Regions from separate parts of the Homo sapiens genome. Here regions 1, 3, 4, 5, 6 and 7 are each linked to region 2. The links are contacts of gene promoters, found by promoter capture Hi-C in blood cells and fetal thymus (Javierre and others, 2016). All regions are on one chromosome and are shown on one strand. Each heading gives the region's core, a stretch centred on a gene start or on the middle of the fragment in contact. The rest is flanking DNA. Distances are from core to core; before and after follow the strand shown.

What was found. The method cuts DNA at HindIII sites, captures the fragments that hold promoters and counts their contacts. A CHiCAGO score of 5 or more calls a contact.
Region 1: a contact is called between a fragment that was not itself captured here and the fragment with the promoter of CLUL1 in region 2, in 4 of 17 cell types (M2 macrophages, M0 macrophages, monocytes and 1 more). The highest score is 8.5, in M2 macrophages.
Region 3: a contact is called between a fragment that was not itself captured here and the fragment with the promoter of CLUL1 in region 2, in 4 of 17 cell types (M0 macrophages, M2 macrophages, monocytes and 1 more). The highest score is 11.9, in M0 macrophages.
Region 4: a contact is called between a fragment that was not itself captured here and the fragment with the promoter of CLUL1 in region 2, in 5 of 17 cell types (M2 macrophages, monocytes, M1 macrophages and 2 more). The highest score is 7.7, in M2 macrophages.
Region 5: a contact is called between a fragment that was not itself captured here and the fragment with the promoter of CLUL1 in region 2, in 5 of 17 cell types (monocytes, M0 macrophages, M2 macrophages and 2 more). The highest score is 6.9, in monocytes.
Region 6: a fragment that was not itself captured here is called in contact with the fragment with the promoter of CLUL1 in region 2 in 3 of 17 cell types (naive CD8 T cells, total CD4 T cells and naive CD4 T cells); the score reaches 6.9 in naive CD8 T cells.
Region 7: a fragment that was not itself captured here is called in contact with the fragment with the promoter of CLUL1 in region 2 in 9 of 17 cell types (total CD4 T cells, monocytes, naive CD4 T cells and 6 more); the score reaches 10.1 in total CD4 T cells.

What each region holds. Positions count from the first base shown.
Region 1 is chr18:210,386-214,115 of GRCh38, reverse strand. It overlaps USP14 (ubiquitin specific peptidase 14), which reads right to left. Exons shown (of 16, transcript NM_005151.4): 15 at 3,623-3,730; 16 at 1-2,983. The coding sequence ends at 2,832. Among named protein-coding and RNA genes, the nearest start is that of USP14, 54 kb to the right of the region's middle. The HindIII fragment of the contact is 1,843 bases long and covers 755-2,597 here.
Region 2 is chr18:595,655-599,423 of GRCh38, reverse strand. CLUL1 (clusterin like 1) reads right to left here and starts at 2,436. Exons shown (of 10, transcript NM_001393344.1): 1 at 2,295-2,436. RefSeq lists an enhancer at 1,456-1,955 and silencers at 2,378-2,497, 2,558-2,687. The HindIII fragment of the contact is 7,229 bases long and covers 1-3,769 here.
Region 3 is chr18:231,117-234,617 of GRCh38, reverse strand. The region is part of intron 11 of THOC1 (THO complex subunit 1); the gene reads left to right. Among named protein-coding and RNA genes, the nearest start is that of THOC1, 35 kb to the left of the region's middle. The HindIII fragment of the contact is 6,171 bases long and covers 1-3,501 here.
Region 4 is chr18:193,459-197,290 of GRCh38, reverse strand. It overlaps USP14 (ubiquitin specific peptidase 14), which reads right to left. Exons shown (of 16, transcript NM_005151.4): 7 at 524-654. Among named protein-coding and RNA genes, the nearest start is that of USP14, 37 kb to the right of the region's middle. The HindIII fragment of the contact is 5,788 bases long and covers 1-3,832 here.
Region 5 is chr18:169,751-173,124 of GRCh38, reverse strand. All of the region lies in intron 3 of USP14 (ubiquitin specific peptidase 14), which reads right to left. Among named protein-coding and RNA genes, the nearest start is that of USP14, 13 kb to the right of the region's middle. The HindIII fragment of the contact is 2,648 bases long and covers 62-2,709 here.
Region 6 is chr18:136,209-139,987 of GRCh38, reverse strand. No RefSeq gene overlaps it. Among named protein-coding and RNA genes, the nearest start is that of USP14, 20 kb to the left of the region's middle. The HindIII fragment of the contact is 3,960 bases long and covers 1-3,611 here.
Region 7 is chr18:152,846-156,182 of GRCh38, reverse strand. It overlaps LOC105371951 (a long non-coding RNA gene), which reads right to left. Exons shown (of 4, transcript XR_935081.2): 3 at 668-774. Among named protein-coding and RNA genes, the nearest start is that of USP14, 4.0 kb to the left of the region's middle. The HindIII fragment of the contact is 5,646 bases long and covers 1-3,337 here.

The DNA.
Region 1 (3,730 bases), core at 427-2,926, 380 kb after region 2:
TAACTAACTGTCTATGGCTCCAGCTACACTATAACAACAGCAAAGCTAAGGAGCTGCAGCACTTTATAGCCTGCAAAGCCTGAAATAATTTACTATCAATCATCAATCAATCATCATCTATCTATCTATCTATCTATCTAATCTATCTATCTTGTCCATTACAGAAAATGTTTGTTTGCCAACTTTAAAAGAAATGAAGTCTAAAACCTCACTTTTCCTTCTAGCCTTACAAAAATTGCCTGACCTCTCAAGACTTTTAATCACTTCAGGGATTCTTGTGACATTCAACTGAGATATATGTGAACACACCCTATACACAGCAAAGCACTAAGTAGTAGTAGCAGAAGACAGTACCACCGACTTTTCTTGTTCCCACATAAGCATTTCCCTTTAGGGCTCTAAGATGAGGTCATCATCGTTTTTAATCCTGAAGAAGGGCTACTGAGTGAGTGCAGATTATTCGGTAAACACTCTTAGGCCTAACCTAGCTAGTCAGTCAAGCAGTAATCTAGCACAACTCTAATGTTGAGATGATGGCCTCGGTGTGAGTGGCACAGCATATAAGGCACATTCAGGAATCAAGACTTTTTTTTTTTTGGCCTACTCCTCTCCCTTCTCAAAGACCTTACAGGCAAGGCTGAATTCTAAAATAGCCTTATTAGTTAAAAACAACACTGGTATAACTAACTCCCATTTCTACTTGAAAAAATTCTTTGGAATAATGCTTTTTTAGATCAAATAAAAAAATCAAGCTTTTTATAATGATGATAAGGAATTAATTACAATTTTTAAAATTCTAATATAGTCCATACAAGGCTTATATACTTTGCTCTAAACCTAGCTCACCTGGTCTAGTAGCTACAACATTTAGTAGCTACAGTCAGAAAATCTAAATTCTAATTGTTAAATTCATGTCCTCAATAAAATTGTTCTGACCAAATGAGACAATGAATAAAAAAGACTTTGCAAAGTTACAAGCATCATACAAATATACATGAATCATTATAATTTTCATGGTCTCATCCTGCCCATTCTATTCTTAATCCCCTCCACAAAGTAGAAAGTATTGATTGCCAAGTCAAAGTTTAGGTGAGGAAGCTATTTACAAATAAGTTTCCCTGCAATGCTTATTTTATCCCCTCCTAGTGTTCACAGATTGCATCACATCAGATTTGAAAGTAAAATGGCTGTTATTTTCTATTTTTAATAGTTATCATCAGTGTTGTGCTCTGCCGAGCATTAAAACAACATACACAAAGATATGAGATGTTATGATAATCCCCAAACTTTATTATAAATAACTCAAAATCAGAGCCAAACTGGCTGGTATTCTATGCTTTATCCTTTCCCTAGCATCAGTCAAGGGTCCTGGAACAAAGATGAGTAACTATTAAAATGTAAGAAGCCTATCATATTGAAATACCTCATATGCTTGGTATTTTCTACTATCACTTTAAAATCACTAAAATTCTGAAACAGACATTAAGATTTGGGAATTTTTTCTTTTTTTTTTTGAGACAGAGTCTCTCTGTCACCCAGGCTGGAGTGCAGTGGTGTGATCTCAGCTCACTGCAACTTCTGCCTTCCAGGTTCAAGCAATTCTCCCACCTCAGCCTCCCAAGTAGCTGGGATCACAGGTGTGCACCACCACATCCAGCTAATTTTTATATCTTTAGTAGAGACAGGGTTTCACCATGTGGCCAGGCTGGTCTCGAACTCAACCTCCAGTGAACCACCTGCCTCAGCCTCCCAAAGTGCTGGGATTACAGGCGTGAGCCACCGTGCCCAGCCAAGATTTGGGGAATTAAGAAAGGAAATACAAACACAACTGAGCCAAGGAAAGAATCTGACTGATAACATCACTGCATTCAGCATCCAAAGAAATCCATTACTTTTACAACTTTGTATTTCTTTTTAAAATACAGGCAGGCAAAGAAGATAACAAATATTTTTAAATGGATGCTTAACAGCACAGTGTTAATAACCATCTTCAGAAATTGTACAGTATTAAACATGTCTTCAGCCAAGCTCCAACACTCAGAAGACAAAAGACTTGAGGTCAAAAGCTATTAATCCCTTTTTTTTTATTATTATTAAATGTCCTCATTTTCTAAAAATAAGCAACCAGAGCTTGTCAACATTTTCTTAAGACTGATTATTACAAAGCCATTCCAAAGTTAAATGTACAATCCACAGTACATCAGAGAGAGACACAATAATAAATGTATAATCAAAGGTACTATTATTGATCACAATTTATTTTAAAGTCAGGAAAAGCCTGCAATAGGCTGGACAAATACTTGATTGTGCCCATGTTTCCATGGGATGGACAGCAGCACTGAGTCACACAATGAGAGCAACACTTCCTTTTCCACCTTCCTGGAAAAATGTTTGTTAGATAAGGCAAAGGATGGGTGGCTACAGAATGGTGGTTTGAACCATGCAAGAACAGCAAATAATAGGTAATAGGTGTGCAGTAAACATCTGACTGCTGAATCTTGGGTGAAAAAGGCAGCAAGAAAAATGACCACAGAAGGAAATGGTTGAAAGGCATTTCAACTCTGAACTTTTTAAAATAATGCAAGAAATAATAAGCTTTTTAAAAATGTCTTTCTGCCACCTTTATATAGGGCAGCACAATCCAAAGATAATTTTCTCTTCTCTGTAATTTTTTAGGTTGGTGCACAGAGTGGTCTGCTTCTGTCCTCTTTTGTTCCAAATGAGGTGAAACATAAACCCACCTATGTGTCTTCCTCTAAAGCTCTGGATTATAGAAATGATCAACAAATAACATTTATTTTCACATCTAAGCATAAATACTAAAATGAAGATTACTGTTCACTTTCCTCTTCCATTATTTCAACTCTGCGAGGCCCATAGAGTAGAACGTAAGCGATATGCCAGTCTCCACCACCAGAAAGCCGTAAGATATCTTCTGGTGTTACGATGCTGACTTTGTCATCATCAAACTTAATCCATTCATCTAAATAACAGGGACAAGAAGATGAATTAATGTTATGCAGGATTCGTCTCAGAGTTCCACTGCAAAAAAAGTATCAAGTCATCGGAGGCACAGCAGTGCTCCACTGGCCACACCAACAGTCCTCCAAGTGCGACCCAGTGACCACACAGGCTTAAGGGCACTGCAGGGGTTCCACCAGGTTACAACTACTTCAATGACACCACTAGAGCACTGCTTGCCTTTTCCACCCACATTCTCTCAAGTGTACTCTGGAATTTTCCAGAGGCTACATAATGTATGATAATGCAACAGACTGAATGCGAACACTAACAGGAGAACCCAGCTGCCTCCTATTTAAGCCAGACAACAGAAAGACATAAAAATGTAAATCAGTACCATTTCTCACTCATTTTGTTTTTACATTAATATGTAATGGGCTTATTACTATCATTTTTAAAACTAACTTTCTTAATTTCTCAGTTTTAATTTCTAATACAGTAAGTATTAAGAGAGGCAAACCTCATAAACCAAAGCTCTTTGGGGCTTCAAGAATGTAAAGTGGTTCTGAGACCCAAAGTTTGAAAACCACACTGCTATAAAATTTATAATAAATGAACTGTTAAAATAATATTGAACAGTTGAAAAAAGAATACCCTTTACCTTGTTTCCTTTTCACCCATGATACATAATGACCTGAAGAACTAGACCTTCCCTGGTGTGTTAGTACTGCTTGTAAGTCATAGTATCCACAATTATTGGAGCCAATAT
Region 2 (3,769 bases), core at 1,187-3,686:
CACCATGTTAGAAATTTTCCATAGTGCCTCATTTAATCCTTTCAACCTTATGATATGAGTATTACCAATCCTGTTTCATAGATAAATAAGATAAGGATCATAGAGGTTAAGTAATTTGCTCACTATCACAATCTGGTAGACAACCGGAATTTTATCTAACCCAGGTCTCTGTTCTTTCCACAACATCACATAATTACCTTAAAAACAACAACAACAACATACACTTAAAGACATGTAAAAATACTATTCTGGTAACTATATTACTTTGCTTCTATGTAATTTCATTTTATTTTGAGAATTAAGAATGAAGTTAAATAAGAAACCTTATATGGCATTATAAAATCTACTATAATCATTCCTTTTATGTATTGTAGAGGTATTTGTATCTTTAGCGCTTGTTGAATGGTACTAGCTAATAATTGTACTCATTTCTCTAATTTGCTCACATATTTCAATCTCTGAAAAAGTTGCCAAAAGCTGTTAACAGACAACAATGGACATATTTTTAAAGTTTAGTAAATCAGAACAACATAGGCACATGCTAAAGATTAATTTGGAATCATTTACATATATGCCTTCTGAAAAAAAGAAAGAGGGGGTGCTTTTTTTTTAAGTCCGGAAAAAGGAATGCAACCTATTTCTTGCAAGGGCATATGAGTGGATCTCATATTCTCACACATGGCTTTGTTTTCAAATTCTTCAAAGTGCAGAAATTCTTTTAATTTAAAGGTGAGCCCATGGAAAATCTGGACCAGCTGTAGAAAACCATCCAAGAACTCAGTGCCACAGCCACTTTTTTGGTTGTGACACAAACCCCAGGGTGATCTGACCCTCTGCTCACCAGTGTTGTAAATTATCCAAGAGAGGTACTTCTGTTCCCACTGCTGCCTCCATGGAATTCATTGTCTCATTAGCTGATACTGCCTAGAGGATGTTAGAGAGGAACTCAGGCAGCCTTGAGACTCAAGAGAGACTCCAGGCTGTCGAAAGAAGGAAGACTCACAAAGCGTCTAAATTCAGACCCTTTACACTGGAGAGGAAGACTTGGGAAACAGCCACATCTCACTGTTTGAGGGACCTGGAAAAACAGATCATCGTGACTTTCTTCAAGGTCACGCAAAGTTTAAGTGATTTTTACTGTCCCACATTCCAGCATGTCCTCTTCTATGCATTCATTTCCCATGGTAGTTCATCATTCTCTATTTATGGCATTTTTATTAGGTAACAGTATCTCATCTCTTCCCGATAATTGTGCTGCTGCATATTTTTAGAAACTTTTCCACCCGCCATTGTCAGGGACTGAGGAGTTGCATTAATGTTGAGTTTGAAAATTCTGTTCTTGCATCAGGCAGGTAAAAGTGGCCTTATTAGTATTTCTGTTTTCAATGTCTGGAGAAAAGTCCCAGGGAGAGAAAAACAAGATAAAGCATCATGTTGTCCACTGGTAAAATCTGTACGTGGAAAGTAGGCTAAGCTAGAGTAATCGGTTTAAGGTAGCAGTTAATAGTGTCTGCAGCTCTTTACTTCGTTAACCTCAGTTAACCAGGACCTGGCACAATGGGGATTGAAATCAGGGGGCTTATCCACAGTTTCCTCAAATACTGATTTTATCAAGTTGGGCTGATAATTCCATAAACTGTATGAGCATTGATAGTTAGATGTGATCGTTTTCAGAGTGATTCTTTTTCTGCTTGGGTTTATTTATTTATTTATTTTGAGACAGAATCTCACTGTGTTGTCCAGGCTGGAGTGCAGTGGCGCAATCTCGGCTCACTGCAACCTCCGCCTCCCGGGTTCAAGCGATTCTCCTGCCTCAGCCTCCCAAGTAGATGGGATTACAAGCATGCACCACCACAATCGACTAATTTTTGTGTTTCACCATGCCGGCCAGGCTGGCCTCCAACTCCTGACCTCAAGTGATCGGCCCCCCTCGGCCTCCCAAAGTGTTGAGATTACAGGCGTGAGCCACCACACCCGGCTCCGCTTAGTTTTTGCCAGTAGTTTTGCAGGGATGGTGTGTCTCCCCGCCTCTACCTCCTCCTCCTGTTTTGAAAAAGAGAATAAACGTATTGGAACAGCCCAGGAGATTGCCTGAGTTTTGCTGGCAGCCTCTGAAGCAGCCCACAGTATTTCTACCTTCCCCGGCAAGAACAGTGGCTTTGTTCTGTCCGCGCCGGAGGGGCCGGGCGTCTGCGGAGCTCGGCCTTGGACTTGGGAGCGGCTTTCTCTGGCTCTCCGGAGAAATGGGCAAGAGCGGCGAGGAGAGAAATCTGGGGCCCGGAGGATGTTCTCACCTGTCATTCCTAAGATGCGCTTGAGTGCTGCCCCCTGGAGGCGTCTGTGCCACCGGCTGGAAGTCAGCCGAGGGCACAGGGTGTCAGCAACCTCCAGGGTGGAAACCAACCCCGCGGCCCGGGCCTGCAGGTGACGCAGGGTGGGCGGGGCCTGCAGACGCCGGGTGGGCGGGGCCTGCAGGTGACGCCGGGTGGGCGGGGCCTGCAGACGCCGGGTGGGCGGGGCCTGCAGGTGACGCCGGGTGGGCGGGGCCTGCAGACGCCGGGTGGGCGGGGCCTGCAGGTGACGCCGGGTGGGCGGGGCCTGCAGACGCCGGGTGGGCGGGACCTGCAGGTGACGCCGGGTGGGCGGGGCCTGCAGAGGACCTGCGCGTCCGGATCTGAAGCGAGCAGAGCCCTCTCTACTCCAGCTGAACGGTGATGGTCGTCAGGAAGGAATGTGGGCTCACTGTGGAAAGAACATTCAGTTTTTCAAAAGAAGACAGAAATAGGGATGCTTATGTGAAATTCCTGATTTTTCAAACTTGGCAACTTAATTCAGTTAAAAAAAAAAAAGCATTTCTATGGCAGGACCACGAGTCATAGGTAGAACGCCTTGTACACATTAGAAAGAGAGCCTCGCTCTGGGCAGATAAAGCAGGAGGGGAAAAAAGTAGTGGGTCAAAGGTGCCTCTGAGCAGTTGCTCCCCTGCCCGACTGCTGGGCTTAATGCGATGGTCATGGCTGGATGTCAGCCTCCCTGTGGGGACACTGACACAGCTGCAGCAGCCCTGAGAGAGTCGCCAAGTGGGCCTGCCCATGCCAGGTGCTGTCCTTGGGCCCCAGGTTCACAAACTCTGGATGCTGGAACAGGTAGCCAGAGAGGGCAGGAAAGGCAGTGCAACTTGCAAGTCTACCCTTGTTAAAGGGCCCTACAATTGTAAAATTTCATGCCCCCCATATCCCAAACATCCTCTCCGTATTCCTGGATGATGAACGTTGGCTTGGGAGGCATGTTTACTCTAGGCAATATTTTTCTGAGGTTATTATACTCTGTGTGTGAGGAAGATTCATCTATGTATCCACTTTATCTTTTGGGAGTACATTTCACCTGTTGTTATTTTTAACATCTTCCCTTGATTGACCTGCTCGTGCTGGACCTCTTTAAATTATTTCTAATTCTGACAACATCCTGACAAGGTAATATAATTCCACTTACTTTACAAATAAAGACACTGAGGCTTCAAGAAGTAATTTTTCCCCAGACCAGCTAGGAAATGGCTGTGCAGAGCTTCAAACCCAGGTCTGTCTTACTAGGAGGCTGATGACTTTGATACTTCTACCTGAGATGGCAAAGTCTGTGTCTCTTCTCCCTGACGTCATCTAATGAAGATCTATGCTGTCTGAGCACTTAATGCCTAAGAATCTTCCATTTGGTGCCTTCCCCTTTCCCCTTTTTATATCTTTATAAATTTAACAACAGCTCTTTTGTATAG
Region 3 (3,501 bases), core at 986-3,485, 360 kb after region 2:
TTGAGCCCAGGAGTTCAAGACCAGCCTGGGCAACACAGCAAGACCGTGTCTGAAAAAACAAAACAAAAAAAAAACAGATTAAAGATTTTTAAGATCTGTATGATCATCTCAGAAGCCAAGAAAATTCAATAAAATCTAATATTCAATACAAAAAGTAGAAAGGAATGTTCTCTGAGTTGATAAAGGACTGATTTTAAAAACCCTATTGCAAACATCATACACAATTATGAAACTTTAGAAAGTATTCCCATTAAATCCAAAAAGAAGACATGGATGGACACTAACCATATTTCTGTTCAACACCGTACTGGAGGATCTAACCATTTCAATAAGAGAAAAAAACAAAAAAGGAGTAAGAGTTATAAGTATTGGAAAGAAAAGAGTAAACTATCCCCATTTGAAGACAATATAATTGTCTACAGAGAAAAGTCCAAGAGAACCAAGAAACTGTTAGAACTAATGAAACTTCAGCAAGATTGCAAGAGAAACATCAATAGTGTTCTTATAAACCAGTAATCAATTACAACATGTTATTCAGAATAGCAGTGAAAGCTCTCCAATACCTAGGCGTAATCTTCATAGAGAAACATTACAAAAATGGAGCAGTGTTTCTACATTTATAGATACAGACCCAGTGCCCCTTCTCCCCAGATTTATTGATTCAGTATATTTTGAATCAGTATCCAAATGGGTTTTTTAATTTGAGTTATACCCAAAGGAATATAAATTGTTTTATTATAAAGACCAAATGGGTTTTTTCATGGGAACTCAAAAAGTTAGTCTTACTATTTCTATGGAAAAGCAAAGAGCCAAGAGTAAGAAAACCATGAAGAAAGCGGGAACACTTGCTGTGTCAGATATTAAGACCTATACAGCAATAGTAATTAGGGCAGGTAATTATTAGTACTAATATACAGAAGAAGAAAACTAAAACAATAGAAAGTCCAAATTGTAGAAAAGGTTAATATACAAAAGAAGATTGCATTATAAACTAGTGAGGAAAGGATGAATTATTTATTTATTTGTTTATTTTGAGACAGAGTTTCACTCTTGTTGCCCAGGCGAGTGCAGTGGCGCGATCTTGGCTCATCGCAGCCTCCACCTCCTGGGTTCAAGTGATTCTCTTGCCTCAGCCTCCCGAGTAACTGGGATTACAGGCATGCGCCACCATGCCCGGGTAATTTTATATTTTTAATAGAGACAAGGTTTCTCCATATTGGTCAGGCTGGTCTCAAACTCCCAACCTCAGGTGATCTGCCCGCCTCAGCCTCCCAAAGTGCTGGGATTACAGGTGTGAGCCACCAGGCCTGGCCTATTCTTAATAAATGTTGCTTGGACAATTCATTATCCATATGGAAAAATTAAAATTCAGTCTATACCTCAGTACAGTCAATTCTAGGTTAATCAATTCCAGGTTAATTGAAAGTATGAATGAGAAAAGCAAGACTTTTAAACATTTAGAAGAAAACATGAAATATGTAAATTTGGAGTAGGGAGAGATTTCTTGAGCTACAAAAAGCACAAATTGTGAGGGAAAAATATCAATTTAGTATTTAAGATTTAATATTAAGATGTAAAAGTCTTGAATAGCAAAAGATACCGTAGGCAAAGTAAAAAGACAAGGCACAGACTGGGAGAAGATTATTTGTCACCTACATAACCGGGAAAAATTAGTATTCAAAATATTCCATTGATAAAAGACAACCAAATGGAAAACTGAAAAGATGATAAGAAAAAGTAATTTAAAGATGTAGAAAACTGAATAGTGAATGAGCTTATAAAAGTTGCTAAGCATCTCTAGTGCAGATAAAATATGAGATAACCATACACTTAGCAAACTGGCCAAAATTGAAAAGCCTAACAATACTAGTATTGGCAGAGATGTGGGAAAATGAGAACTTTTATACACTGTTGAAATATAAATTGAATCAACCACTTTGCAGAATACTTTTGTAAAAACTAGTGAAGTTAAAATTTGTTCCTAAATATGGCCCCCTACACAGGACCCACATACACAAGGAAATCTCTAAGAAGATTCACTGTACCATTGTTTGTAAATGATGTATTTGTAAATGAAAGTTTAGAAACAGTGTCAATGTTCACAAGCAGAAGACTGGGTGATAAGATAATTTTACGTGACAGTTCTATAAAGCACTGAAAATGGATTAATTATAGCAGGGGTTGGCAAATCTGGCCTATCATCTATTTTTGTAGATAATTTTTATTGGGCCAGGTGCAGTGGCTGTAATCCCAGCACTTTGGGAGGCCAAGACGGGAGGATTGCTTGAAACCAGGAGTTTGAGACCAGCCTGAGCAACAAAGTGATACCCCCATCTCTACAAAAAAATTTTAAAATGAGCTGAGTGTGGTGGCATATGCCTGTAGTCCCAGCTACAGGGGAGGCTGAGGCAGGAGAATCACTTGAGCTCAGGAGGTCAAGGCTGCAGTGAGCCATATTCATGCTCCTGCATTCCAGCCTGGCTGACAGAGTCAGATCCTATCTCAGAAAACAATAAATAAGAATAATAATTTTTATTGGAACACAGCCACCCTCATTCATTTAGATTGTCTCTGACTGCTTTTGCTCTGTAACAGCAGAGATAAATAGTTGTGACAGAGATATATAGTCCATAAAGCCTAAAATAGTTTCTGGCTGGTCCTTAAAAGATTTGCCAATCCCTGAACTAGAGCAACATGTATTAAGATGGGTAAATTTCAAACATAGTGTTGTATGAAAATAGCAAATTGCAGAATAGCACATAATGTGTAGAGTTTGAAACAGTGCAAAGTACATCCATATATTATTTATAGATGTTTACATATGTAGTAATATAAAATGTGTATAAAAATCCTAACCGTGAAATACATGGTAGTGGTTACCATAGTAGAGGGAGGGAGGGAAATAGGAGTGGGGAGGGTTATAGAGGGAGCTTCAACAATGTCTATGATATTCTGTTTCTTTAACAGATATGTAACAAGTAAAAAATGTTAGGATTTTATATGTAGCTGGGTAGTGGGTACATGAATGTTGTATTACTTAACTATACCTTTTTGAACATTTAAAATATTTCATAATTTAAAAATTGGATAATTTGATCTCAGCTGATGTGTTATGACAGTTGGTAAGATTTTAATGAGAATGTTCTGAATATTTTCTAGCACATGTTTTTTATGTATTTTGTGTTAAATTGATAGAAATGGAAGATTTCATACACTTTAATTTTACCCAGGAATATTATTTATATGTAAAATTGATTGACAGAGAGGCATGTAAGGATGACTAAAATGAAAAGCATGAGCCTTTTTAGGGTTAGAATATCGGGAAAACTGAGGCCTGAGCTAAGATGTGCCATAAAAGCTAAGGACAGTAGCCTAGTCCAGTGATGTATGCCTGAAGTTCCAGCTATTTAGGAGACCAGGGCGGGAGGATCACTTGGGCCTAGGAGTTCAAGTTCAGCCTGGGCAACATAGCGAGACCCTTCTGTACTAAATACATACATA
Region 4 (3,832 bases), core at 1,087-3,586, 400 kb after region 2:
TGTGCTGTTCCAATAAGGTCATCAGGGAAAGCCTAAGGCTTTGGCCTTGGAGCCATGAGACCTGAAGGAGGTGAGGGAGCTGGTCTTGCACTTATCTGACAGCCAAAGAACAAGAGCAAAGGCCCTGCAGGAAGAGGGCACTTGAAAGGTTTAAGGAAGCCTGTGCAGCTGGAGAGAGGCAAGCAAGGGACAGAGTGGTAGTGATGAACTCAGAGAGAAAGCCAGGGGCTAGAGGATTTAGGACTGCGGTAGAAAATCACTAGGGAGTACTGAACAAGGGGCCAACATAATCCTATCGTCATTTTAAAAAGGACATTGCGGGCTGTGTAGAGAAACTGCAAAGGGGCAAAGGCAGAAGCCAGATATCAGTTAAGACTACTGTGCGGCTCCAGGCAAGAGACAGCCGTGGCATGAACTAGAGAAGACTGATGTTTATATTTCGAACTATGTTCCAGTAAGTACGGTAAATGTAGGAAACCTAAGTTTTACATTTACAGAATGAAAAATACCTTGCCCTAATTACCTGTTGAAGATACTGTCCTTGTTCACCTTTCTCGGCAAACTGTGGGAAAGCCATGTGCAAAAACTGCAGTAGAATAATAGGTGGAATACTGGAAGAAGTTTTATCCATGGAATCAAACAAATCTCTAAGGGCTTAAAGACAAAGCAAACATTGCCTTAGTAAAACAGTCACATATTTAATACACGCGACTGTAAATTAATTTTAATTAATACAAACAAAAACTTACTTAATTTTTTTTTTTTTTGAGATGGAGTCTTGGTCCGTTGCCCAGGCTGGAGTGCAGTGGCGCGATCTCGGCTCACCGCAACCTCCGCCTTCTGGGTTCAAGCAATTCTCCTGCCTCAGCCTCCAGAGTAGCTGGGATTACAGGCACACGCCACCATTCCCGGCTAATTTTTTGTATTTTTTTTTTTAGTAGAGATGGGGTTTCACCATGCTGGCCAGGCTCTGGTCTCCAACTCCTGACCTCATGATCCGCTCACTTCAGCCTGTAACCCCAGCTATTCGGGAGGCTGAGGCAGGAGAACTGCTTGAACACAGAAGGGCCTCCCGAGTAGCTGGGATTACAGGAGCATGCCACCATGCCTGGCTAATTTTTGCATTTTTTTTAGTAGAGACAGGGTTTCACCATGTTGGCCAGGCTGGTCTCGAACTCCTGACCTTGTGATCCGCCAGCCTCGGCCTCCCAAAGTGCTGGGATTACAGGTGTGAGCCACCACACCCAGCTGCTTAAACATTTTTAAGTGTATCTACTCTTTGACAATTGTTGGACTCTCAATAAGAAAAAAAAAAATCCTTTTTAAATCTTAACTCACCAGAAGACCTTACAAAGCAATCACTAGCTGTAAACAACTTCTGAGCCCTCCCTCTCTCTTTCTTCTTGCCAGCCTTTGTCTTCCCAAACAAAGCAGGGTGTTTTAATTCAGTACAAAGAACACATAACCTCTGTTTAGGGACAAACAGGCATAATGTAATTGTTCTGCTACTCTGCCAAGATCAGGATAGCGGGTCACCTCTCCCAACTTACCTCCCTTTAAACCTATAGTTGGTTCTCATCTACTCAACTCCTGGAGATTTAAATCTGGGTCCTTAAACAGCTGACTCTACTGGACAGCTAAGAACCAAAACTACTAAGAATTTACCTTCTTCAGAAAACCTTCTTTCCACTTACCCCTCTCAGCAGCATGAATCTCACAGTCATGGACTAGTCTGTTCTCTTGGATTTCGAACCATTTCTCCTCTGCGGACTTCCTAGTGATCATACCTTGCCCTCCTTCATGTACAGCAAAACTCTTCCTCTAGCTTATCTCAACTTGTATGTTTTATTAATACCCAAGATGTGAAATGTCACCTATCATCATTATACAGACTGAACCCACCAAATACAGCATCTTAGCACAAAGCAGGGGCTCAATAAAATGTTCCTGAATAACAAAACTGAACACAATGTTTAAAAAATATTTTTGGAGGGAAGGCTGAAATTTGGGCATCACTACCAAGCTAATTATTTTTTTAAATAAAAGCCTACATTTTAACAATATTTTATACACTACTCAAAAAAACAGATGATTTAAGATCTAGTATATACCATCAACAGAGCATCTCAAAAGTATTTCATTAGTTTGAAAGAAAAAGGTCAAGAAGAAATATAGATTAAAAGAGACTAATAAGATATAACAACTAAATGCAATGTGGGATCTTAAACTGAATCCTGAAGAAGGAAAAAAAAAAAACTTTTTTAATGGACAATACTAGGACAGTTGGCAAAATCTGAATAAAGACTGTATTTTAGGGTACTGTGTGAAACTCCCAAATTCTAAAAAAAAGTTTGTTTTTTGAGACAGTGTCTCAGTCTGTTGCCCAGGCTGGAGTACACTGACACAATCTCAGCTCACTGTAACCTCTGCCTCCCAGGTTCAAGCGATTCTCGTGCCTCAGCCTCCCGAGTAGCTGGGATTACAGACATGCACCAACACACCCGGCTAATTTTTGCATTTTTAGTAGAGACGGGGTTTCGCCATGTTGGCCAGGCTGGTCTCAAACCCCTGGCCTTAAGTGATCTGCCCGCCTCAGCCTCCCAAAATGCTGGGATTACAAGCATGAGCCACCGCACCCAGCCCAGATTCTGAAAATTAAGAATTGTCTTGTGGTTATGAATGTCCTTATTGTTAGGAAATACATACTGAAATATTCAGGATGTCTGGCGCCTTATTCTAAAATGGTTCAGAAAAAAATTACATGCATAACGGAAAAATGAGAAACCAAATGCGACTAAAAGTTAGTAACTGGTGAATTCTTACAACTTTTCTGTAAATTTAAATGTATTTCAAAACAAAAAGTTAAAAAATCAAGAAGCAAAAATGTAAAGAACAGTATTTTTCATCGCATCAATACTATTAGCCGCATATATGATGCTGCAGAAGCTGCTGAAATTCTAAGTTATTCTAAGATACATGAGCTGTCAAATGAAGTAGATATAAATGATCACACTTTCTCACTAAAAACTTCATTTCAACAAGTAAGTCTACTTTAGGAAAAAAAGTTAGAGTAAAATCTCTCTAACTGCAAATGACACAAAAGAAACCTGTTTATAATATCAAAAATCAATGGTTGACAACAATGAGATAACACTTCATACCTCTTGGATGGCTATAGTCAAAAAGACATACAATACTAAGTACTGGTAAGGAGACAGAGAAATCAGAACCCTCATACCCTTCTGGGGGAAATGTAAAACGGTGGGACTCCTTTGGAAAATTCTGGCAGTTCCTCAAAAGGTTAAATATAGTAATCATATGACCCAGTAATTAACTCCACTCCTAGATGCATACCAAAGAGAAATGAAAGCATTTGTCCACACCAAGACTTGTACACGACTGTCAGGAGTATTTGTAATAGTCGAAAAGCAGAAACAACCCAAATATCCACCAACGATGAATGGATAAATGATATGTGGCTTGTCCATACAAGGCACTCTTATTTAGCAATAAAAAAGAATGAAGTACTGATACATGCCATAATGTGGATGAATCCTGAAAACATTATACTAAGTGAAAGACACCAGTCACAAGAGACTACATATTATTTAATTCCATTTAGAGTAAAAGTCCAGAGTAGGCAAATCTAGAGAGAAATAACACATAGATAAATGGGTAGGGCTAGAAATGGGAAAGGAGGTGACTGCTAGATGTTATGAAGTTGCTTTTTGGAATGATAATGTTCTAAAATTAACATTTTAGTAATATTTGCACAACTCTGTGGATAAACTAAAAAACAATGAATTATACACTTTAAATGGGCAGATTTTAT
Region 5 (3,374 bases), core at 136-2,635, 430 kb after region 2:
AGAAAAAAAAAAAAAAAGACAGACAATATATCTAAATGTAACAGCTAAAACTTATCAAGCTTTACAAGAAAACAGAAAAAAAAAATCTTGTAAACTTGGCACAGGCGAAGATTTCTTACAACATAGTACAAATCACTAAAAAATGTGATCAACTGACTTAGATAAAATTATCTTCTATCCAACAAAAGAGTATTACATAGATTAAAACACAGGGATACCTTGAAGATATTACAGTTTGGGTTCCAGAGCATGAGAAAGCAAATATCGCAATAAAGCAAGTCACACAAAAATTTTCCCCCAGTGCATACAAACATCATGTTTATATCAGTCTGTGAAGTATGCAACAGCATTATGTCTAAAAAGGAATGCACATACCTTAATTTTAAAATAATTTATTGCTTAAAAAAAAAAGCTGACAATCATCTAAGCCTTCAGTTAATGATCTTCTTGCAGGTGGGGGGTCTTGTTTCCAAGTTGATGACTACTGACTGATCACGGCACTGGTTCCTGAAGGCTGGGTAATTGCTTAAAATGAGACAACAATGAAACCTGCCACGCTGACTGACTTCCTTTCATGAAAGAGTTCTCTGTAGCTTGCGGTGCTGTTTAATAGCATTTTATCCACAGTAGGACTTCTTTCGAAACTGGAGTCAAACCTCTCAAATCCTGCTGCTGCTTTATCAAGTAAGCCTACGTAATATTTTAAATCCTTTATTGTCATTTCAACAACATTCACAGCTTCTTCACTAGGAGTAGAGTCTATCTCAAGAAATTACTTTCTTTGCACATCCATAAGTTACCTCCTCATCTGTTCAAGTTGTATCATGAGATTGTGGCAATTCAGTCACAATTTCAAGCTCCATTTTTCTATTCTTTTTCGTTTTTTAGATACAGGGTCTCACTCTGTCACTCAGATTGGAGTGCAGTGGCACAATCATAGCTCACTGTAACCTCAAACTCCTAGGCTTAAGCGATCCTACTGCCTCAGTCTCCAGAGTAGCTAGGACTACAGGTATACACCACCATGCCCAACTAATTTTATTTTTTGTAGAGACAGGGTCTCACTGTGTTGCCCAGGCTGGTCTCAAACTCCCAGCCTGAAGCTCTCCTCCTGTCTCAGACTCCCAAAGTGCTGGGATTATAGGAGTGAGCCACCATGCCTGGCCACTTCTAATTCTAGTTTCTTCCTATTTACACCACATGTGCAGTTGTATCCTCAACTCAAGTTTTGAACTCCCCAAAGTCATCCATGAGGGTTAGAATCAACTTCTTTCAAACTCCTGGTAAATACTGACTTCATTTTAACTTCCTCCCATGAATGCTCCTAATGGTATCAAGAATTCAGGTGAATCCTTTCCAGAAGGTTTTTAATTGATTTTGCCCAGATTCATGGAGAAATAACTTTATAGGGAAACTTTAGCCTTACAAAATGTATCTCTTAAATAATAAAAGTAGAAATTACTGATCCATGGGCTGCAGAATAGTTGTTGTAGCAGACAGGAAAACAACATTCATCTCGTTTATGTCTCTCAAAACTCTTAAGTGACTAGATGCATTGTCAATAAGCAGTAATATTTTGAAAGGAATCTTTCTGAGCAGGAAGTCTCAATGGTGGCCTTAAAATATTCAGTACTCCATACTATAAACAGACGTACTGGCATCTGGGCTTTGTTGTTCCATATACAGAGCACAGGCAGAGTAGATTTAGCATCATTCTTAAGAGATCCATGGTTTTTGGAATGGTAAACGAGCATTGGTTTCAACTTAAAGTCATTAGCTACATTAGCCTCTAACAAGACAGTCAGTCTGGCCTTTGAACCCAGGCACTGACTTCTCCTCTCTAGCTATGAAAGGCTTAGACAGCATCTTTTTCCAATATCAGGCTGCTTCATCCACACTGAAAATCTGTTGTATAGTGTAGCTACCTTCATCAACAATCTTAGCTAGATCTTCTGGATAACTTACTGCAGCTTCTCCATCAGCACTTACTGTTTCACCTTGCACTTTTATGTTACAGAGATTGCTTCTTTCTTTAAACCTCGTGAACCAACTTCTGCTAGCTTCAGTTTATATATATATATATATATATATATATATATTTTTTTTTTTTTTTTTAAGTTCCAGGGTACATGTCCAGGATGTGCATGCTTGTTACACAGGTAAACATTGTGTCATGGTGGTTTGCTGCACCTATAGACCCATCACCTAGGTATTAAGCCCAGCATGCATTAGCTATTTATCCTGATGCTCTCCCCACATCCCACTGCCTGACAGGCCCCCGTGTGTGCTGTTCTCCTCCCTGTGTCCATGTATTCTCATTGCTCGGCTCCCACTTACAAGTGACAACATGCGGTGTTCGGTTTTCTGTTCCTGTGTTAGTCTGATGAGGACAATGTAGCTTCCTCACCTCTCTCAGCCTTCACAGAATTAAAGAGAATTAGGGTCTTGCTCTGGTTAGGTTTTGACTTAAGAAAATGTTGTGGCTAGTTTGATCTTCTATCCACACCACTTAAACTTACTCCATATCAGCAATAAGGCTGCTTTGCTTTATCACTTGTGTGTTCATTGCAGTAACACTTCAAGAACTTATCTTTTAAATTATAAATTTCCTTTGAAAACTGGACCTTTGTATTCACAACTTGGTTAACTGCTGCAAAATGCCTAGCTTTTGGACTGTCTTGGCTTTACACAGGCCTTCTTTACTAAGCTTAATCATTTCTAGCTTTCTGTTGAAAGTAAAAGACATGAAACTCTTCCTTTCTCTTGAACACTTAGAGGTCACTGTAGGGTTATTTATTTATTTATTTATTTGTTTATTTTTGAGACAGAGTCTCGCTCTGTTGGCCAGGCTGGAGTGCAGTGGCATGATCTCAGCTCACTGCAACCTCCATCTCCCAGGCTCAAGCAATTCTCCTGCCTCAGCCTCCCGAATAGCTGGGATTACAGGCATGTGCCACTACGCCCGGCTATTTTTCTATTTTTATTTAGTGGAGATGGGGTTTCACCATATTGGCCAGGCTGATCTTGAACTCCTGAACTCAGGAATCCACCCGCCTCAGCCTCCCAAAGTGCTAGGATTACAGGTGTGAGCCACCGCGCTCAGCCTGTAGGGTTATTAATTGGCCTAATTTCAATACTGTCTTGTCTCAGGGAATAGGGAGGCTCGAGAAGAGGGAGGAGGGAACTGCGGGTCGGTGAGGCTGTCAGAAGACACATTTGTCGATTAAGTTTGCCATCTTACAGGTGTGATTCATGACACCCCAAAACAATTACAAAAGTAACATCAAAGATCAACATACTTGACATGAGAGTAATGAAAATGTTTCAAATATTGCAAGAATCACCAAAATGTGACAAAGAGACATGAAGTGAAC
Region 6 (3,779 bases), core at 382-2,881, 460 kb after region 2:
TCATGACTCCACTAAAGTAGGGGAGTCACCTCAACTGAGAGTCAAAACTGAACACAAGCCAGGTGCAGTAGAGCATGCCTGTAGTTTCCACTACTCAGGCAGCTGAGGCAGGAGGGTCACTTGAGCCTAGAAGTTCGAGTCCAACCTGAGCGATATAGAGAGACTCTGTCTCTTAAAAAAAACAAAACCAGGACACAATGGCAGAAAGGAAGTCCTCCCCGCCCCTCAAAAATTGAGATGCTGAGACCAGAAGAAAGGCAAAACAGATGTGGGTGGAAAAATCACAAATGCCCCCAGTCATGAGTCCCGCCATCCAAAGAGAATTGGTCAAGAACATTATGTTGCACTCAATTATATTTATATTTATATTTATGTTAGGCAAGCCCAACAGTACAATCACTATGGAGTGAGCCAGACAATCTTTAACCAGTTTCCCACTACAACCCCAGCTCCTGCTTCTTCATTACCCTCCTTTAATTATATAAACAGGCTGGGCCCAGTGGCTCACACCTGTAACCCCAGCACTTTGGGAGGCCAAGACGGGCATATCACATGAGGCCAGGAGTTGGAAACCAGCCTGGCCAATATGGCAAAAACCCGTCTTTACTAAAAATACAAAAATTAGCTGAGTGTGGTGGTGCGCACCTGTAGTCCCAGCTACTTGGGAGGCTGAGGCACAAGAATCGCTTGAACTTGGGAGGTGGAGTTTGCAGTGAGCTGAGATCATGCCACTGTGCTCCAGCCTGGATGACAGAGCAAGACTCTTTCTCAAAAAAATAATATATGTAAATAATTTTTCAATATGATACTCCTGACATTATGGTAAAAAAGCAACTATTTTGTTAATATTTAATTCAAGAATAACTATTCTGGCATCTCTTCAAATTATGGTACTTAAAACTGAGGCCTATGCATATTTATACTAACTTTTTTTTTTTTTTTTGGAGATGAAGTCTTGCTTTGTGGCCCAGGCTGGAGTGCAGTAGCATGATCTCGGCTCACTGCAACCTCTGCCTCTTAAGTTCAAGCTATTCTTGTGCCTCAGCCTCCTGAGTAGCTGGGACTACAGGCACGTGCCACCATGCCCGGCTAATTTTTGTATTTTTAGTAGAGACAGGGTTTCACTATGTTGGTCAGGCTGGTCTCAAACTCCTGACCTCAGGTGATACTCTTGCCTCAGCCTCCCAAAGTGCTGTGATTACAGGCGTGAGCCACCATGCCCAGCCTACTAATATCTTTAAATATTAGGCTATCTAGTACAATTTGTATATGTATTATATACTTAAATGTGAAAAGGTCTCTACTAAATTTCTGAAATTGATGATTTCATAGCTCTTACACTGAGATAGGGGCCATTTATTTGGTTCTGGAAAATAATTTGGGTGATTCTGGAAAAAAGGTTTTATGATTCCAATATGGAAACACATATGCTTCCTCCAGCCTAATTTGAAATGAAAAGCTGAGATTCTCATAAACTTCCAAGATGCCAGTATCCTCACAAACTCAGATGTGAGCTACTTTTATTTAATTCATTTTTTTTCTGTTTTGTTTTGTTTTGTTTGAGACAGGGTCTTGCTCTGTGGCCCTCTGTGGCTCAGGCTGGAGTGCAGTGGCGTGATCACGGCTCACTGCAGCCTTGACCTCCCAGGCTTGAGTGAGCCTCCTACCTCAGCCTCCTGAGTAGGTAGGACTACAGGCATGTGCCACCATGCCAGGATAATTTTTGTAATTTTTATAGAGGTGGGTTTTCACCGTGTTGCCCAGGTTGATCTCGAACTCCCAGACTGAAAGGATCCTCCCACCTTGGCCTCCCAGAGTGCTGGGATTGCAGGCATGAGCCACTGTGCCTGGACTTTCTTTCTGTTTTAAATATCAGCACACATCCTGAAGTTCATTTTATTGAGTAGTGCATCTTAAAAATATAAAATTTCACCAGGCACGGTGGCTCACGCCTGTAATCCCAGCCCTTTGGGAGGCTGAGGCAGATCACTTGAGGTCAGGAGTTCAAGACCAGCGTGGCCAACATGGTGAAACCCTATCTCTACTAAAAATACAAACATTAGCTGGGTGTTGTGGTGGGCACCTGTAATCCCAGCTACTCAGGAGGCTGAGGCAGGAGAATTGCTTGAACCTGGGAGGCAGAGGTTGCAGTGAGATCGCACCACTGCCCTCCAGCCTGGGCAATAGAGTAAGACTCCGTCTCAAAAAAAAAAAATATATATATATATATATAATTTCATTTTATTTTCTTTAACAAATACATAATGAGATAAACAATAATTTGTATATCACGTACTTTGGAGCAAGATTTAAAACACTGAAGCAGAAAATTAAAGTGGACAACTAGGTGGCAGCAATGGAAATACTGGTTTAAAATCTGCTCCTGTGCAGTTAAGTCATTTCTTAGCGTCACAACTTGCTCTGTCAAAATAACAGTGTTCTTGTTTTCCTACTAGCAACTCACCTGGGAACCACAGCAACAAGACGATAAATTGCTTTTCTTCTAGAAACCTACACACATTTTAACAAAGATTGGTAGTGTGCAGGGTGCGTGGGAGGGAAACAGCAGGAAAAGATGTGGACACCCCCCAAACAACAGACTCTTTTTCAATCATATACATTTTATCATTCCCAATTTGGCCGGGTGCAGTGGCTCATGCCTGTAATCCCAGCACTTTGGGAGGCTGAGGCAGGCAGATCACTTAAGGTCAGGAGTTCAATTTACTTTTGATCCTCACATTCAGATCTCTCTCTCTCTCTCTCTGCCTCTCTCTCTCTCTCTTCCTTGTTGTGAGCCTCGCTCTCTCACCCAGGCTGGAGTGCAGTGGTGCGATCTCGGCTCAATTCAACCTCCGCCTGCTGGGTTCAAGCGATTCTCCTGCCTCAGCCTCCGGAGTAGCTGGGATTACAGGCGCGCACCACCACGCCAGCTAATTTTTGTTTTTAGTAGAGACCGGGTTTCACCATGTTGCCCAGGCTGTTCTCGAACGCTAGAGCTCAGATGATCCACCCGCCTCTGTGAGCCACCTCGCCCGGCCACATTCAGATTTTTTGATTCCACAGAAAAGCTCACCATGTTTAGACTAATATTTCTTATATTAATCATCCCTAGACTTTATTTTCCACCAAACACCTATTTATCAAATCTTTTTTTAATTTTTACTCAGTTTTATTGACTGTAAAATTTGCCATAGTTTCTTGGTTTTGCCTGTAGTGAATCAAAGCAACCAACAGCTATAAGAAAAATTTGTGGCTTTTGCCTCTTTTTTTTTTTTTTTTGCCGGAAACAGCAGCCGGTTTGCAAACCAGTCCTTCCGCCACTTTCAGTGCAGGTGGTTTGTGTGGGTCTGACCTCACGTGACTCTGGTGTGACCAATCAGAACACGGCTTCCCTCTGCCTGTAGTGATTGGTTCAACCAGAGACATGTGACTCAGCTAATGGGAGGAGTTCCCTGGCCCCTGGAATAAGTAGGCAACAGAGATGCTCTTTGTCCTGAGATTGCTACACTTGTAGAACGTAGGCCTGGCGCTGCAGTAAGATGAGGAGACTGTGAGAAGGAGGCCACCCCAAAGGAGAAAAGTGGGCTAGAGGTACAAAGATGCTAGAAGCTTCACTGGAGCTACTGGACTCACGCTCAAAGCTAGCTTTTTCCCTGCACTTTGAATTAAACAAATTTCATGAATCAGTAAGTTTCTTCTTTAGCCAGTGTGTGTTGGGTTTTCCATTTGCAACCAAAAGATTCCTCATGCAAAAAAGTGCACATTGTAAAAATGATTTT
Region 7 (3,337 bases), core at 224-2,723, 440 kb after region 2:
TAGCCAAGATTGCACCACTACACTCCAGCCTGGGTGACAAAGCAAGACTCTGTCTCAAAAAAACAAAACAAAACCAAATAAAAATGTATAGATCATCTGTGGAAAAATCTGTGCTGCCCTTTGTTGAAGCTGATAGTAAAGGAGGCCTAAAGATTGAGAGATTCAGAGGCAAAAATCATCATCCTGTCTGCTACACTCACATTGCAACCTGCGCTTTTTTGTTGTTGTTGTTTCTTTTTCTTTTTGAGAGAGAGCCTTGCTCTGTCGCCCATGCTGGAGTGTAGTGATGCAATCTTGGCTCACTGCAACCTCCGCCTCCCAGGCTCAAGTGATCGTCATGCCTCAGTCTCCTGAGGAGCAGGGATTACAGGTGTGTACCACCACGCCTGACTAATTTTTGTGTTTTCAGTAGAGATGGGGTTTCTGCTGTGTTGACCAGGCTGGTCTCAAACTCCTGGCCTCAAGCTATCTGCCCACGGCCTCCCAAACTTCTGGGATTATAGGCGTGAGCCACCATGCCCGGCCAGCTTTTTCTTTAGTAACTCTCATCACACTTCTATTTTTTTAATGTCTGTATTCCCCCAAGTACACTATAAACAGGAATCGTGGCTATCTCGTAGGCACTCAGGAATTACTTGATGCTGTGAGAACTGGATGTGAAAGTTACCTATTTGAAGTTTATTCATCATGTAGATGACCAGGGAATCTTGTAGACCAAGTTTTGGTCCCTTTGGTACAACTAGCTTCTTCCAGCCTCTCTGAAGATCCGCAGACCTAAATTTAAGACAAATGGGGGCAGAGTGAGGAGGTGGAACCATGCTAGCAACTGAAAGGAAGCATAAAAAGAAATTTGCACAACTGGCCTTCCTAAACGTCAGAGTTAAAGATGACAGCGACCTCATCGCCATGACACACATTGCTAAGCCCTGCCCTCCATGTGTTTAATGGATGGGATTTTCTTCTTAAGGGTGACTTCTTTAATGAATAAATTGGTAAGATCTTAACCTGCATGTTTATACATAAATAAGTTCTATAAAACATAGCCAAATATCAGAAATGTTTTCACTTGGTGAATTACCTACAATTTATTGCTTAGAATGTACCCTCCTTCCTCATCTGGCCATGGGAAATCCTGTCCAACTTTAAAATCTCCATTTAATGCTAACTTTTTCACATAAACTGAAAGCCTTCTTATACAATCACCCCTTTGTGTCAAATACTATTATGTTTTATTATGGCTGATTTAGTTTCCTATGAGTGCTGTAATGAATTATCACAAACCTAGTGGCTTAAAACAACGTAAGTTTATTATTATCTTACAGTTCTGGTGGTCAGAAGTCTGAGACTGGTCTTAACATTAAGGTGTTGGCAGGACTGCATTCCTTCTAGAGGCTCTGAGGGTGAATTCTTTTTTTCTTTTCTTTTTCACACAGAGTCTCACTTTTTTGCCTAGACTGGAGTGCAGTGGCACCATCTCAGCTCACTGCAACCTCCGCCTCCTGGGTTCAAGCGATTCTTGTGCCTCAGCCTCCCAAGTAGCTGGGATTACAGGCACGCACCACCACGCTAGCTAATTTTTGTATTTTTAGTAGAGACAGGGTTTTGCCATGTTGGCCAGGCTGGTCTCGAACTCCTGACCTCAGGCGATCCACCCGCCTCGGCATCCCAAAGTGCTGGGATTACAGGAGTGAGGCACCGCACCTGGCCTCTGAGGGTGGATCTATTCCTTACCCTTCCCAGATTCTAGATACTGTCCACATTCCTTGGCTCCTGGCTCCATTCCAGCCACAGCATCACTCCAACCCCTGCTTGAGTCGTCATAGCGCCTTCTCTGACTCTGACCTCTGCCTTCCTTTTAGAAGGTCCCTTGTGATTACGTTAGCCCCAACTGGATAATTCCAGATACTGTTTTCATTTTAAGATCCTTAATCACATCAGCCAGTCCCTTTTGGAAGACAACCAAGATAATCATAGGTTCAGGAGATTAAAACATGGACATATTTGTAGAAGTATTTTTCTGTCTACCAAGGACAGACAATAAATAATAAAACAGAAAACAACAAATATCACTACACCTTCTTAGAGCATCTACAGTTTAATATTCCTATGTTTCTCTCTTCTCTCTCTACTAAATTATAAATTATAAGCCCTACCAGGTGTAGTGGTTCATGCCTGTGATCCCAGCTCTTTGGGAGGCCAAGCGGGGCAGATCACATGAGGTCAGGAGTCCGAGACTAGCCTGGCCAACATGGTGAAATTCCAGCTCTACTAAAAATATAAAAAATTAGCCGGGCGTGGTGGCATGCGCCTCTAATCCCAGCTACTTGGGAGGCAGGGGCAGAAGAATCACTTGAACCCAGGAGGCAGAGGTTGCAGTGAGCCAAGATTGCGCCATTGCACTCCAGCCTGGGTGACAGAGCAAGACTCTGTCTAAAAAATAAATAATAAATAATAAACTATAAGCCCTGCCTTAAATAATTTGGAATCCTGCCGGGCACGGTGGCTCATGCCTGTAATCCCGGCACTTTGGGAGGCCGAGGCGGGCGAATTACTTGAGGTCAGGAGTTCGAGACCAGCTTGGCCAATGTGGTGAAACTCCGTCTCTAAAAATACAAAACATAGCTGGGCATCGTGCCGGGCACCTGTAGTCCCAGCTACTCGGGAGGCTGAGGCAAGAGAATCACTTGAACCTGGGAGGCGGAGGATGCAGTGAGCTGAGATCACACCATTGCACTCCAGCCTGGGCAACACAGCAAGACTCTGTCTCAAAAAAATTAATATAATAATAATTTTGGATCCTACACACACATATACACACCATATGCATACGCACACACACACACACACACACACACACACACACACACACATTCTATAACCTAGAACGGTAGTTTGCCTAAAAAGGTTTTCAATAAGTATTTCCTGGCCAAGTATGGTGGCTCATGCCTGTAATCCCAGTGCTTTGGGAGGCCGAGGCAGGAGGATAGCTTGAAGCCAGGAGTTTGAGACCAGTCTAAGTAACAGAGACTTTGTCTCTACAAAAAAAAAAAAAAATTAAAAACAGTAGCTAGGCAGGGTGGCTTGCCCCTGTAGTCCTAGCTATTTGGGAGGCTGACGCAGAAGGATCACTTGAGCCCAGAAGTTCATGGCTGCAGTGACCCAAGATTGCACCACTGCACTCCAGCCTGGGCAACAGAGTGTGAGACCCAGTCTCCTAAAAGATTTTTTTAAAAGTATTTCCTAAATGAATTCATAACCTAGTTTTGGGTCAACAGATGATGCAAATTATATTAGGTGAATGCTATGCTGCTATGGCAAAGGTGCCTCAAGATTAAGT